Linked DNA regions of Homo sapiens: region 2 is linked to region 1. The links are contacts of gene promoters, found by promoter capture Hi-C in blood cells and fetal thymus (Javierre and others, 2016). All regions are on one chromosome and are shown on one strand. The core of a region is centred on a gene start or on the middle of the fragment in contact, and the rest is flanking DNA. Distances in the headings are between cores, read along the strand shown. Region 1 holds the start of PGCKA1 (PDCD10 and GCKIII kinases associated 1). Region 2 overlaps TBC1D1 (TBC1 domain family member 1).

Evidence for each region. The method cuts DNA at HindIII sites, captures the fragments that hold promoters and counts their contacts. A CHiCAGO score of 5 or more calls a contact.
Region 2: a contact is called between a fragment that was not itself captured here and the fragment with the promoter of PGCKA1 in region 1, in 1 of 17 cell types (naive CD4 T cells). The highest score is 5.6, in naive CD4 T cells.

The regions. Positions count from the first base shown.
Region 1 is chr4:37,448,943-37,456,244 of GRCh38, reverse strand. PGCKA1 (PDCD10 and GCKIII kinases associated 1) reads right to left here and starts at 2,320. Exons shown (of 4, transcript NM_001104629.2): 1 at 2,205-2,320. It overlaps LOC124900691 (a long non-coding RNA gene), which reads left to right. Exons shown (of 3, transcript XR_007058098.1): 2 at 655-765; 3 at 1,151-1,928. It overlaps NWD2 (NACHT and WD repeat domain containing 2), which reads right to left. Exons shown (of 7, transcript NM_001144990.2): 7 at 6,782-7,302. The HindIII fragment of the contact is 3,173 bases long and covers 1,922-5,094 here.
Region 2 is chr4:37,974,730-37,981,650 of GRCh38, reverse strand. The region is part of intron 2 of TBC1D1 (TBC1 domain family member 1); the gene reads right to left. Among named protein-coding and RNA genes, the nearest start is that of PTTG2, 18 kb to the right of the region's middle. RefSeq lists silencers at 3,713-4,012, 4,033-4,082, 4,203-4,322, 4,393-4,462. The HindIII fragment of the contact is 3,989 bases long and covers 1,260-5,248 here.

The DNA.
Region 1 (7,302 bases), core at 1,071-3,570:
GGCTCAATGGTTAAGAGCAGGCACTCGAGAAAGACTACATCTGACCTGCACATAGGTGAAGACTCCAAGTCGGCTTCCCCTAGGATGACCCCTTTAACTCAACTCTTTTCTACACACCTACAAAGTCTCTCTGTAAGCATGTAATCTAATGACCAAAAAGAATGACCAAAAAGAAAATCTGCCTAATGACCAAGAAAGAAAAGCAGGACATAGGTACTAGTTACTATTTAACCAAGACTGTAAAAGATCCCAAGATTCAGGGTTACCAGAAAAATTGTGTAACTAGGGGAATGTGAAACACAGTCTAGGGAGAGGAAACCTAGCTACTGGAAGGCTGGTATTCAATTATTTGGAAACTGGCGTCTATTCCAAGAAGCACCGTGAATGGGCTTCCGGGCACCAAGAGCGGGCTGTTCTAGGAGGAAAGGGGCCGGCCCTACCTGTGCTCTGCCCTTGGGCTGCAAATGGATTCTGGCCGGAGCTTAGCCAGGTTGTATTTCCGGCTCAGAGAGGGTCTGGGTGGGACGTCAAGGGAATCATTCCATGTTTAGGATAATGGAACGTGTTGAGTTGGTATGCAAGGTTTTGTCTTCAATCCCAGATATCCAAAAAGCTCTTTGAAACACAGGAAAGATTGGCCCTATTTCTCTTTAGGTATCATTATTTATCTAAATCTCCGGAGCCATTGAGGACCAAGATCATACTTGCTGAATAAATGCACGGAGCAGGATCAGAGGATAGACACAGAATGGGCCAAGAAGAGAAGTAAGCCACACCTTCCCTTCCTGTCTCAGCATCTGTTCCATTTCTGCTCAGTGACCCAGGCAGCTTGCTGTTAGCTGACTCTTCACACTTTAGGGAAATACAAATAACTCCAGAACTTAACTTTACCTTTGAGCTTCAAATTGTTTCAATTATGTACCTTGTTTCAATTATCTGCCTCCTGACAGTGTTTCACAGCTGGGACCAGTAAGGTGGTCTATGATCTTTAACATCTGTCTTATCCTTCCTAAAATAGTATCAACTGAAGGATTAAATGGGGAAGGGGGAGGGGTAGGCAACAAATATAGACTCTATTATGTTTAAAAGCAGTAACCGCTTTCCATTTCTTTCTCATTCAACTCTCAAATGCTTCTCTTCTTTTCTCCAGATATTATTCCTCATAAGAGCTTGCTTGATTGCAACCACCAAGGACATCCACAAACCAGGGCAAGAAGGACCATCCGTAATTCTTTCCCATAAATAGTGACAGGAAGAAAATAAACGCCCTATTCTTCAATGATTTGAACCACCTCTGGAGCACAAACTTTCTCTAAATTCACAGGGCAAATATCCATCATGGGGCAGGTATCTATGCTGCCATGGAAAGTAACATAAAATGTACTAAGTCATCACAGGGAGTTTTAATTTTGTTTTTAAGGTCAATTGCCATGCTGGGGTAAAAAGCATTGATCCTTGCCTTTTATCACCGGAAAAATTCTTCACCAGTACTTTGTGAAAATCTCGCCTCATCAGGGCTGCCAAGGTCAATGCAACCTAAGTAACCAAGCTGGGAGATGCTTGCCTAATTATTAAATATTTAGCAAACAGTTTGTGACTATTTAACTGTTTGCACCTGGCACCCTCTTTTCACTACGTGAGGCCTCCTGGCACCCTGACCTCTTCCCCCACCCCTACCCACTGCCCAGGCCGCCAGCACCCCTGGGGGGCAAATACCGGGACCCAAGGGCATTTCAAAGAAACAGCAGAGGTCACATTCCATTTCCTTTTTATTAAAAAACATACTTAAAATGGGGGAGGAGGGCACAGATCTAAGGTAAAATCTCTTGCAGTTTTTTCAAGTTCGCATGCACCGTTGAAAGTTCATTAGTTAGGGATTTAAAAGCAAAAATGTTTCACACAACCAATTAAACGCCAAGCTTTACAAACGCCTTGGTCTTTGGTTTTGGGAATCTGTAAAAGTCCGCCTCCCCCCACCCGAGTTTTGCCCCTTTTAGAGCCCCTTTGTTGAATTACGTGACTTTTCCCGAAGTCATCAAACTTTGAATTGCGTCTCTAATTTTTTTTTTCAGGGCAAAAGCAAATCAAGAAATTAAACTTAAAAGTAGGCGACTCGGAGAGAAGTGGGGGAAAGCTCGCCCCAAAGCCAAGTTCCGCAGGACTAAAGCCCTCTTTGCGCGCGCGGGGCGGGGGATTGTCCCTACCTGGGGCCAGACGGCGGCGGCGGCGGCGGCGGCGGGGTCCCGGCGCCCATGGCTTCGCCGGCCTCGGGCAGCCGCGCCGGGAGACGCTAGCGGCTCCGCGCTGCCCTGAGCCCGCCGAGCTCGCAGCGGCCGCCCCAGCGCTGTCATTGGGCCCGCGCGTCACGTGGCCCGGGCTGCGGGTGAGCCTTCCCGACACGCGTAACCCTTTACCTGCACGCCCCGAGGATGCGGCGGGGCTAGGGCTCGAAACCCTGGAGTACGATGTCCGACATCCCCGGGGCCGGGGTGGCAGTCCCGGGCGCACTGAAGCAGAAAATCCACGCGCTTGTTGGCCTCTGAGCACAAACGACCGCGCCAACCGCCTGCCATCACGGGAAACTCCGGGGTGCTTACTCCAATGTTGCGCTGGAGAGAAGGGAGCTTCCTATGATCAAGGGACTGGAGTACGGGGATACACAAAACAAATGCACCCGCTGGCAAATAGTTGTGTACTCCCAAACCCCGAGAACTTGGCATTTTTCAGTTTCCTCCTTATTTCTGGCATTCGCCGCCTAGACCTGCTGTGAGTTCCATGGCCAGCCCTGTATGAGCTACATGGACCTAGAAACAGCGGGGGCGCCACCACCACGATAAAAACCAGGGAAGTTGCACACACTCGCCTGCACCCTAAAGGCCCCAGGGGGAGTTCAATGAACTCCTGGTTCCCCGTCCCCTCCTCACCCACTCCCCCTCCATCCCTTTCTTTTCCTGAGGTCTTAGGGCATTGGCCACAAGACTGCATCCAATCTACTGAGTTCCACATTCGTAGCTGTTACAATCCATATACCTAAGGCGGGTGGAGAACTGACTCTGCTTAAGGACTGGACATTCTTTTCACCTGTGCTCCAAAGCAAATGCTGAGCTTGCCAAAAAAAGTGTTAAGCAACTGCGCCACCTAGCTTACCCTCTTCTCTCTTCTTTTCAACTCATCCAGCAAGAGAATAAAATAGGATATTGGAGAGGCATCTGGACAGAGTATTATCTAAGGATGGACATAGTGTCCTTGGGTTTTCAATGTATCTACTTTAATGATGCCAGCCCCATTCACATGATATTTGCCAGGCTTTTGAGAATTTGAACACTCCATTTTTTGAATCCTTCTAATTTTGCAGTGCTGGGATTGCACGCTGTAAAGTGTTAGATTTTTGCAGGAAGTTATATGTGGTTTTACATCCTTTGTCACAATGAACGGCACTCATGTCCAACTTATAGTCGACACTTAATTGTCTACAGGATATTGATACATTTATCAAGTAGGTTATCTGTCGAAAAAGGGGTTGGTATTTGTATTGGGTTTCATTTTATTTATTTATTTATTATTATTTGAGACAGGGTCTGGCTGTTGCACACAGGCTGGAGTGTGATGCGATCTCAGCTTACTGCAACCTCCTCCTCTGGGGATCAAGGGATCCTCCCACCTCAGCCTCTGGAGTGCCTGGGGCTACAGGCTCATGCTACCATGCTCGGCTAATTTTTGTATTATTATTATTATTATTACTATTATTATTATTATTTTTGTGGAGACTAGGGTGGGGGTGGGCTCTCCTAAACTTGCCCAGGCTGGTCTTGAACTCCTGAGGTTAAGCAATCCGCTCGCCTCGGCCTCCCAAAGTGCTGGGATTGCAAGCTGAGCCACCGCGCGCCCCAGCCTGCCTTAGATTTTAAAGTGCAGTTCCTAGACTAATAGCATCGGCATAATCTGAGAGAATGTAGTAAAAATGCAAATTCTTGGGACCCACCCCAGACGTATTGATTCAGAAATAGTTGGGGAGGGAGGGTGAAGAAATCTGTGTTTTAGCAAGTGGTACCTACTCCAGTTTGCGAACCGTTGCTCTGAATATGCACAGGTAGCTGGCGAAGTTCCCCTCATCTATTAAATAGTAAGGGCTGGCATTCTATAAAGCTAGAGGTGCTGCTTTTATTTGTATCCCTAGATTACCAGTTTTATGTAATCTGTCATGTTGATACACTGAAACTGAACCCTCCATGTGTCCATACAACGTGTAATCTGTACTTCTTGCAGATCTCTTGGAATGCCAAATTGAGATCTGAGGGGCCCTTGTAAAACATATGGAAGAAAAACCTATGGTTTCTTGATGCACACCAGGGTGAAAACACCATGATTCACTTCATTTTTTAGGTGTGCCCATGTTTTCACTGACATGTAAATTGTTCCCAGCCAATGAGTCATGAAAGATAGGAAAGCTAATTTTTTTGAGTGGATTTATCAACATGGTTCCAAATTTGTGAAAGAGTTCTAAAAAACAAACAACATTAAAAACATTATGGTATCCGTTTATGTTATAGCCCAAAAAACTCCCCACACCATATTAGGCATTGCAGTAAGGGCTCCTTGCAATCCATTGCAATCTCCTTACTGAGAAAGAAAGAACTGAGTGGGTTTTTATTTGAGTTTTCTCCATGGGATAGATAGACTATTTCTAATGGGCTAGATGGATGTCTTACTTTTAAACTCTCTAGGTCCAAGTTTGTTTTGTGATTTTCCCCCACTTTCATCCCCTGTTCACTTTACATTTGTAATTCTATCTACTCAATTCCAATTGGAACTGGAATTATTTGAGTTTTCCCTCCCCTTCATCAAACACCTCTATCCATTAAGCCCTGAAATAAATCTTGAATTGCCCCTACTCTAAGCAGGTTCTAAGATCAGGTTCTAACACTTTCTAACTGAGATCATGGCCATGGTCTTTACTGGTCTCCCAGCTTCTGATCTTTTCCATCTGAAAGCCATCTGACAAAGTAACTGCCCTTCCCCAAAACTTTTTTTCCCAGCTCCCTGTTGAAACCAGCGCAATTTTCCAACAAGCCAAATGCCCATAGCACTGAAGCTTGAGAAACTTACACCTGCTGCCTGTTGACCAATTCCTCTTCCTTAACCCTCCCTAATTCCTGTTTTCCTATAGGAGGTTACAGTGAGATGCTAGACACCTGCTGCCTATTGAGCAACTCCTCTTCCTTGCCCTGCCTGTTTTCTCCCCCCATATAAACCCCAACTTTAGCCAGGGGAGATTCAGATTTGAGTCTTGTCTCCTGTCTCTGGCTGATATCACCCATAATAAAGCCTTCTTCCCTGACAATACTCATTGCCTTAGTGATTGGCTTTCTGTGTAGTGAGCAACAGGACCTAGGCTGGGCCCCTGGCTTTCAGTGACACTATTGACTACTGAATAAAGTCTAAAATCCCAACAGCATTTGAAGTCGCCTGAAATATGCTTCAATGCCCATTTTTGCTCATGCAGCTTCCTTTACCTGAAATGTCTCTCTGACATTGACAGCTAAGTCCTAATTATTCTTCTAGCCTCAGCTCTATCTCCTCTGGGTCAACCTTTTCGATATTCAGGTAGTGTTAATTGCTCCTCTGTAGTGTATCCTCAGCACCTGGCTCTCACTCTTACTAACTTTGAAATCAGTCTCATCTGGTTTAGCTGTGTCTCTTCTAGACTGTAGGGTTCTGGATGGCAGGAGTCATGCGTGACTTTTCAAATCATTCCAGGATCTAGCATAATGCCTTGGGCATAGCAAGCATACAGTGTTGACTGTTGTGTTCTTGGCTCTAGGAAAGAAGATATTTAAACAAACTCTATTTATTTGAAATGCTTTTTTGCAAATATTTATTAACTTCTCTACATTTTCTTTGAGAACTAAAAGGAGAGGGGTTTAGCCTTTTCAACCTAAAGATATTACCCTTTGTAAGTAATGGAATTGTTTTCAGTGGTGGTAAATTTTGAACACGTTAGTCTCAGCCATGTGATGCAGGCAATAAACCAGAATAATTTATTTTCGTAACACATTAAAGTTTCTCTGAGAACAATTATTTCATGACAACTAGATACTAGCTTTCAGATTATTTCCTATGTATCATCACTTAAGCTCACCAATACTCCTCTGTTTCTGTTTTTTAAAAATATTTTTTGGTGCGTGTGTGGATTCTCAGATCCAAGAGGCAAGAGATGGAAGAAAGGGCATGTGGGAAGGCTCCCCTTGGTCCTGCTCGTTCGCGCAAAGGGAATTTATGAGAGAGACAACTCCTCAGTCATCACCCTTCTTCTCCTTCCTCCCCATCCTTCTATTAATGAATTCATCAACTATTTCTGTATACCTGAAAAACGTGAGAGTTTGCAGCAAATTTCAGTGATCTTCAGAGCTAGCCCAGTCTCCCACCTGCAAGTTAGAAAACACCTTGCAGGTCATTATTGATCTCTAAGTGCCTACTAGATACTAAATGCTCTGTTTTGATGTACTTTGAGAAAGTTAAGGAAAAAGACACTGAGAGTGCACTGAAATCTTGTTCAGCTATTCTCCCTGGACCCGTTTCTAGGTTTCTTTACCTATACATTTGGAATGCTAACAGTACCTACTTCACAGGGCTGTTGTGAAGTTTAAATGGCTTAGTACATGCAAAGCTCCAAGTACAGTGCCTGGTGCAACATAAGCAGTAAGCATGAACAGTTATTATTATTACTGAAGGTCTCTAATCACATCTGCCAAAAATGGGGGAGAAAAACAGCACGCCAATCTAAGTAGTTTATCTTTTATTCATACAAATAATACATACACAAGACTGTATATTGTTTGAAGACTGAAATAATTTTCTAGTGTAACAACTCTGTAACAAAATTTAACTAAATGTAACATTTATGAAAATATAAATCTCTGATTGGGTAATTCTTCCCAACGATACAAAGTTTACATAAAAACATTCAATATGAGCTATCAGTTGCAAACAAGTTAGGAAAAATCATTCAAGTCACTTGTATACTCTATTGGCTTTTACATAGAACATTCACATACTACATTTAATCCATCTAGGCATTTAATTCTTAGAAATGTGTGGCATGGAGGTTCAACTGATAATGACAGGAATGAGAATGTGTTGCCTAAAGAGCTCAAAAGCATAGACTCATATAATCAACTCCAGGTGATCTGTATGTGGTTTGCCTTCTCTGGGCTACCACCTCCCTGGCTAGTAGCTAAACCATAAGTAACATACTGAAAAACATCTTTCACTATGGACCTGGGTATTTTTATCTGAATCACA
Region 2 (6,921 bases), core at 2,005-4,504, 520 kb before region 1:
CCCTGAGGCCTGCCTGGAGCATGTTTCCTGCCCTCTCACCAGTCAGATGGAATGCCACCCCTGCACCACCCCAGCCCGGAGCCACTTACTTCTCTTCCTCGCACTGATCACCATCTGAAATAATCTTGTTCACCTATTTGCTTGCTGCTTTGCTATCTCTCCCATCTAGAATTCCATGAAAACAGGGGTCTGCTTGTCGGTTGCTAAATCCCCAGCTCCTCAAATAGTACCTATTATAGGTAGGTTATCCATAAATATCTGCACTGAACACATTTGTTAAATGACCTGTTGAATGAATGGTGGCTAGATAAACCAATGTTTTAAAAGTAATGCCCAAATACGGAAAACCTGGTTTTACATAAAATATTAATTAGCAATCAGTTACTTGCTTTACAAAAGGATTCTGTGGGCTGGATGCAATGGCTCACACCTGTAATCCCAACACTTTGGGAGGCGGAGGTGGGCAGATCACTTGAGGTCAGGAGTTCAAGACCGGCCTGGCCAACCTGGTGAAACCCTGTCTCTACTAAAAATACAAAAATTAGCTGGGCATGGTGGTGTATGCCTGTAGTCCCAGCTACTAGGGAGGCTGAGGTGGGAGGAGCACTTGAACCCAGGAGGCAGAGGTTGCAGTGAGCCGAGATCGTGCCACTGCACACCAGCCTGGGCGACAGAGTGAGACTCAGGGTCAAAAAAAAAAAAGATTCCTTTTTTAATGCATCTTTAAATATTTAATTTACAAATCTCCAGGGTGCACACTTTTTAAAGGATAATCTATTGTGCAGAGTGAATTAACTCCTCCAGGACATAAACACTGCTTATATACAAAAAGTACCTAATAAAACACTTGTTGAATGAGCACTGGAAAATACACAGTTAAATGCCTTAATTAATACATTAAATACACAGTTAAGTACTTTATTCATAAGGTAAATACTTAATACACACCATAAACTATATGAAACTATACTTGGATTTGAAACACAGCAAACTTGGCTATATTTAGTTCTCATTTTCCATTTTTTCTCATAAACTGACATATGTATATTTAAAATCTACCAACTTGAGATACCAGCAATAATCTTAGCTACAAACTTTATAAGCAGGTGCAAATCCAAATAAATTCTGGAAGTTACTTGGCAGTTCTGCTGCAGTCAGTTTTGACTAACAGATACATGGAGGCATAGAAACAGTAGATATACTCAAAACTGACAGGTTGTTGGGGACATCTGTGAGTTTACTATGAAAATCACAAAGCTTGAGAAGTTCAGTTTTATTTATAAACTGCGTAAAAAGTCAAGTGTCCCCACTGAAAGACTAATCAAGAAATCACACTGCTATAAAGCCCAGCCACATTCTTGATGCAATGTACACCTGCCCTAATGTTCCAGATCATGTCCAATTTTTTTTAAAAGTACATCTTATGTTTTTCTTTCTTCTTTAAACAGATAATCTCTTTAAAACAAAACTCTCCCGTTTTGGCTTTATTCCTACATCATGAAATTGCCCACTCTACACATTCAATATTCACACAATACTAATGCATCGTGCAAGAAAAACACATTCATGCTTGGCCGGGGGCGGTGGCTCACACCTGTAATCCCAGCACTTTGGGAGGCCGAGGCAGGTGGATCACCTGAGGTCGGGACTTCAAGACCAGCCTGACCAACATGGAGAAACCCTGTCTCTATTTAAAAATACAAAATTAGCGGGGGTGGTGGCGCAAGCCTGTAATCCCAGCTACTCGGGAGGCTGAGGCAGGAGAATCACTTGAACCCAGGAGCCAGAGGTTGCAGTGAGCCAAGATTGTGCCATTGCACTCCAGCCTGGACAACAAGAGCGAAGCTCTGTCTCAAAACAAAAAAAAAGAAAAACACATTCGTGCTCAGGTATCCATGTGAATCAACCGACACCCACCCCTTCTCCTTCCCCACCAGGTGTTCAGCTGCAGTTGCAAAGGTCAAAATGAAAAAGGAAAAGGAAAGTCAGCTGCGTAACTGGATGTGCAGGTGTTTGTGTGAGGCCTGTGCTCATGTGCAGCTGTGTGTTTCTGAAGGGGCATTCTGAAGTCAAATATAACAACTTCAAGATTATTCACATTGTGTACATTATCTATGCCTTTTGTCTTTGTCTTTAGGATATTACCTAGTTTGTAATGTAAAGTGTGTTAATGACTTGCCTCTTCACCGTAAACCACATCAGTTCCATAGAACATCATTCTTACAATCTATAACTCCAAGAAATAAACTTCCAAAGACTAATTTCGTATTCTAAAATCTTTCACAGGATAACACGTTATCTATAAAAATCATTCAATTTCGGGATATAATTTGTAATGCATGCACCACCTACAGGAAATGAAATATAAAATAACCACATTTTAAAAATGTATGCTAAGAGGTATACATGAATTTGCTCCAAAAACATTTAATAGTTTTTCCGCTGTTGTCCTGTAATCGAAATAATAATTTTGAGGGCGGGTGTGGTGGCTCACATCTGTAACCCCAGCACTTTGGGAGGCCAAGGTGGGGGCATTACTTCAGCCCAGGAGTTCGAGACCTGCCGGGCCAATATGACAAAACCCCATCTCTACTGAAAATACAAAAATTAGCTGGGAGTGGTGGCGCACAGCTGTAATCCCAGCTACTGGGGAGGCTGAGACACAAGAATCGCTTGAACCTGGTAGGTGGGGGTTGCAGTGAACTGAGATCGCACCACTGCACTCCAGCCTAGGTGACAAGAGTAAGACTCTGTCTCAAAAATAATAATTTTGAAATAACAAGATTCAGAATCCAAATTAAGCTACCAGCCTACATTTCCTCTATATAAACTTTTCCAACGTACTGACACTCGGAGAAGGCTAACAATCGTCCTAAAAGTCTGTGATGGTTTTTGAAATGACTTTTTAATGACTCAAAACGTTTTTGAAAGTCATCTCATTTTACCACCAGCTATGTTTCAGGAAGTGATTCTAATGGAATGTTATTTACCTAGTAAGAAAATCTACCTAAAAACTTTTGCCCATCTAAAAACTAGTGTTATCTAGTTTCTGTGTCTCCAATTTTGTATCACTTAAATCACAGGCAAAGCCATACCTGCTCACAAACAGGTATTCATAAAAATGTAATTAAATAAGACTATAAAAGCATTGCATGATAACTCAAGACATAACCACCACCTAATTAAATTATTAATTGGTAAAGCCTCACAGTATGGCTAACGAGTTGTGAGCTTATTACTCAACCAGCCATACACAGGAAACAAGCCCTGGGAAGGCGCCGGCCAAGGGACTGAGTGCATGGGGTGACAGCAAGATGCCCTAACGACCAGCGAGCCTTTCAAGGTGGCGAGGGTCGCATCCTTTAAAACACATTCAGACACCTGGCACTGCAGGAGTGGATAAAAAGAATGCTATTGATGCTATTACTGTGTTCTCGAACTGGTGGGAACTCGGGAAATCTACACTTATGCCTTCCTGTTAGCAACAGTGCAACTGGCCTGGATTTGCACCACCCAGTTATCTCGAAGGCGCTGATGTTCTGAAAATAAAACTTTGTGGGAATGGAAAGTTAAAAACTTCTATTTAAAACTCAGACCTCAGAACATGCCCTTTGAAACCAGAGGGTTAAAAACGAAAGACAGACGCCCCTTGTGGGCACCAGCCTCTGGGCATCCTCGGCGCCCTGTCCAGGCGGCCCAGCGCAAGCCGACTTCTGCGAGGGAGACACACGAGGGCGACACCCGCGAGGGAGACACGCGGGGTCGACTTCCGCGAGGTCCCGCGCCGGGGAGGCACCGAGCGGCAGCTCCGCGGCGCGGGGAGCGACAGGGGCCGGAGGAGCCGCCTGCTGGGTTCGGGCTCCCGCAGGGGTCCCCGAGTACAGCCTCAGTCTCCCCAACTGTGAAATGGGCGCCGCTACCTCGCCCGTCCTCCCCACAGGGATCTGGGAGACTAATGAATGAGAAACGCGCGGCTAACGACCTGGTCGCGCCCGCCGCTCGCCCCCCGCCGCGCCTGGCCTCCAGCGGCCCGGCCCAGCCCCGGCCCGAAGGTTACAAATGTTCCAGCCCCGCGCCTGCCGCTCCGCTCCGGTAACGGGCGCCCGCCCGACGCCGCCTACCTTGGCCACCCAGCTGAACAATGGTGACATCGCGGGCCGGGCGGCGGCTCTTCGCCCGCCGGCTCCCGCTCACTCCCGCCGCCGGCCCGTGGGCCCGCGGGCGGCCGGGGGCGGGCTTGGGGAGCGGCGGGGCCGGGGCATCGCTCTCCCCGGCGGCGGCGGCGGCGGCGGCGGGCTCCACCCAGTTCGTCACTGCCCCGAGAGGTCGCGCCCGCGGGGCGGCCAGGCAGAGAAAGGGAAGTGGGAGGGGAGAGCGCGGGGAGGGGGTGGGCGGGGGGAGGAGGGGAGAGGAGGGGAGGGCGCGCAGCCGACCCCGCCCACCCCCGCGCTCCGCTGCTGGCGGGAAGTTGGGACATGCTGGGGTCGCCCCCTTCCGAGATGCCCAGGGCTGCGCAGGAAACCCTGGAGGCTGGGGACGCGCCTTTCCAGGCCTCTGGGGTCCGTTTCGCACAACTTTCAGAAATCTAAGAATTCCTCCCTCTCCGAGGTTCCACAAAAGCCCCAGAGTTGGAGCTAACACAAAGCCCGCCCAACTTTCCAGGGGTGACCCCCACCCCCAGGGCTTTTCTTCCTAAGCGCTTTAGATTGCTAGTAACAAAAGACCAGTGTTCCCCAGCCCCTAATACCTTTATATAATCAAAGGTGGTTTTCTTGGAGTCAGGAAACTCGGCCATTGAGACCAAAAGTGGGGCAGAGGAAAAAGAACCATTTAGCTCCTGCCTGCCAGGAGGCTTTAGCAACTTGAGAAATGTTGATTTCACCATAGTTTTCTTCTCTCCCAAGGCAAGATGATGAGACAAGGTGGTCAGTTTATGGCTACAAAGGTAAAGCTGAGTTTCAATCCCAGCCACTCCTGAGTTCCACGTTGAAAAAAAAAAAAGTCCAAAGGTTTAATCGCTGATGTGTTATGCATGTGTCAGGTGGAACCACTCACTGAGTTCCTCAGGCCAAATGGCCAACCCAGCCCAAGAATTCTGCTTCTCTTTTCCTTCTACTAATTGTGCATTATCTTCTTGAAGGACCATTGGGACATTTTAATGTTGTTCCCTAAATATCTGGCATCTGAGTTTAGTGAGGGTATTAGCTACCTATTGCTGTATAAAAAGTTACCCCAAAACTGAGAAGCTTAAAACCACAAACAACTTCTGTGGGTCAGAAATCCAGGAGCATCTTAGCTGGATGGCTCTGGCTGAAAGTCGCCCTAAAATTTCAGCCAAGCTGTTAACTGAGGCTGGAGTCATCTCAAGACTGGCCTGGGACTGAAGGATCCACTTCCATGCTCATTCACATAGGTGTTGCCCGTATTTAGTTCCTCGCAAGCTGCTGGACTCAGGGCCTCTGTTTCTTGCTGTTTCTTTCCATAGCACTGATCAGAAAATGGCAGTTTGTATCCCCCAGCACAAGTGATCCAAGAGAATGCACAAATCCAAAAACAGTGTTTTATGAATTAAGATGTGACATCCCAACACTTTTGCTCTATTACTGTTTGTGAAAAACCAAAGACATAAGTCTAGTCCACACTTAAGGGGAGGAGATAATATAAGGACATGAATATCAAAAGGAGAGGATCATGGGGGATTGTGGGCGGCAAGCCACCCAGCTGCCAAGGCAAGAGACCCAGGGCACGAGCTGTTCCAGTATAATAAAATATATAAAATAAGAATAGTTATACTAGATATAGATCTTAGATATGATTATATATGAATATCATTAATCATTAGTTTGTAGCAATTATTCTTTATTCCAATATTATAATAATCCTCGCTCTACAATCATAACCTAGGAAAAACCAGGCCATACAGAGATAGGAGCTGAGGGGACATAGTGAGAAGTGACCAGAAGACAAGAGTGCGAGCCTTCTGTTATGCCCGGACAGGGCCACCAGGAGGGCTCCTTGGTCTAGCGGTAACACCAGCATCTGGGAAGACGCCTGTTGCCAAGTGGACTGTGGTCTAGCGGTAGTGTTAGTGTCAACAAAAAACACCCGCTACTTAGCAGACCGGGAATGGGAGTCTCCCTTTCCCCGGGGGAGTTTAGAGAAGACTCTACTACTCCACCTCTTGTGGACGGCCTGACTGATGTCAGGCCTGCCCGCAGTTATCCAGAGGCCTAACCATCTCCCTGTGATGCTGTGCTTCAGTGGTCACGCTCTTAGTCTGCCTTCACGTTCCATCCTGTACACCTGGTTCTGCCTTTTAGATAGTAGTAGCAAATTAGTGAAAGTACTAAAAGTCTCTGATAGCAGAAATAATGTTGTAAGCTGTCTCTCTCTTTCTCTTCTCTCTCTCTCTGCCTCGGCTGCCAGGCAGGGAAGGGCCCCCTGTCCAGTGGACACGTGACCCATGTGACCTTACCTATCATTGGAGATGGCTCACACTCCTTACCCTGCCCCTTTGTCTTATATCCAATAAATATCAGCACAGCCTGGCATTCGGGACCACTACCGGTCTCCACATCTTGGTGGTAGTGGTACCACGGGCCCAGCTGTCTTTTCTTTTATCTTTTTGTCTTATGTCTTTATTTCTACACTCTCTCGTCTCTGCACACGGGGAAAAAACCCACCAACCCTGTGGGGCTAGACCCTACAGGGGATGATAGGGTTTCATCTTTTTTCCACCCTTGTGGTTTTATCTGGTGCATAGGAATAGATAAAACCGTAAAGGCATAGAGAGGCTGGGCGTGGTGGCTCATGCCTGTAATCCCAGCACTTTGGGAGGCCAAGGCAGGTAGATCACCTGGGGTCAGGAGTTCAAGACCACCCTGGCCACCATGGCGAAACCTCGTCTCTACTAAAAATACA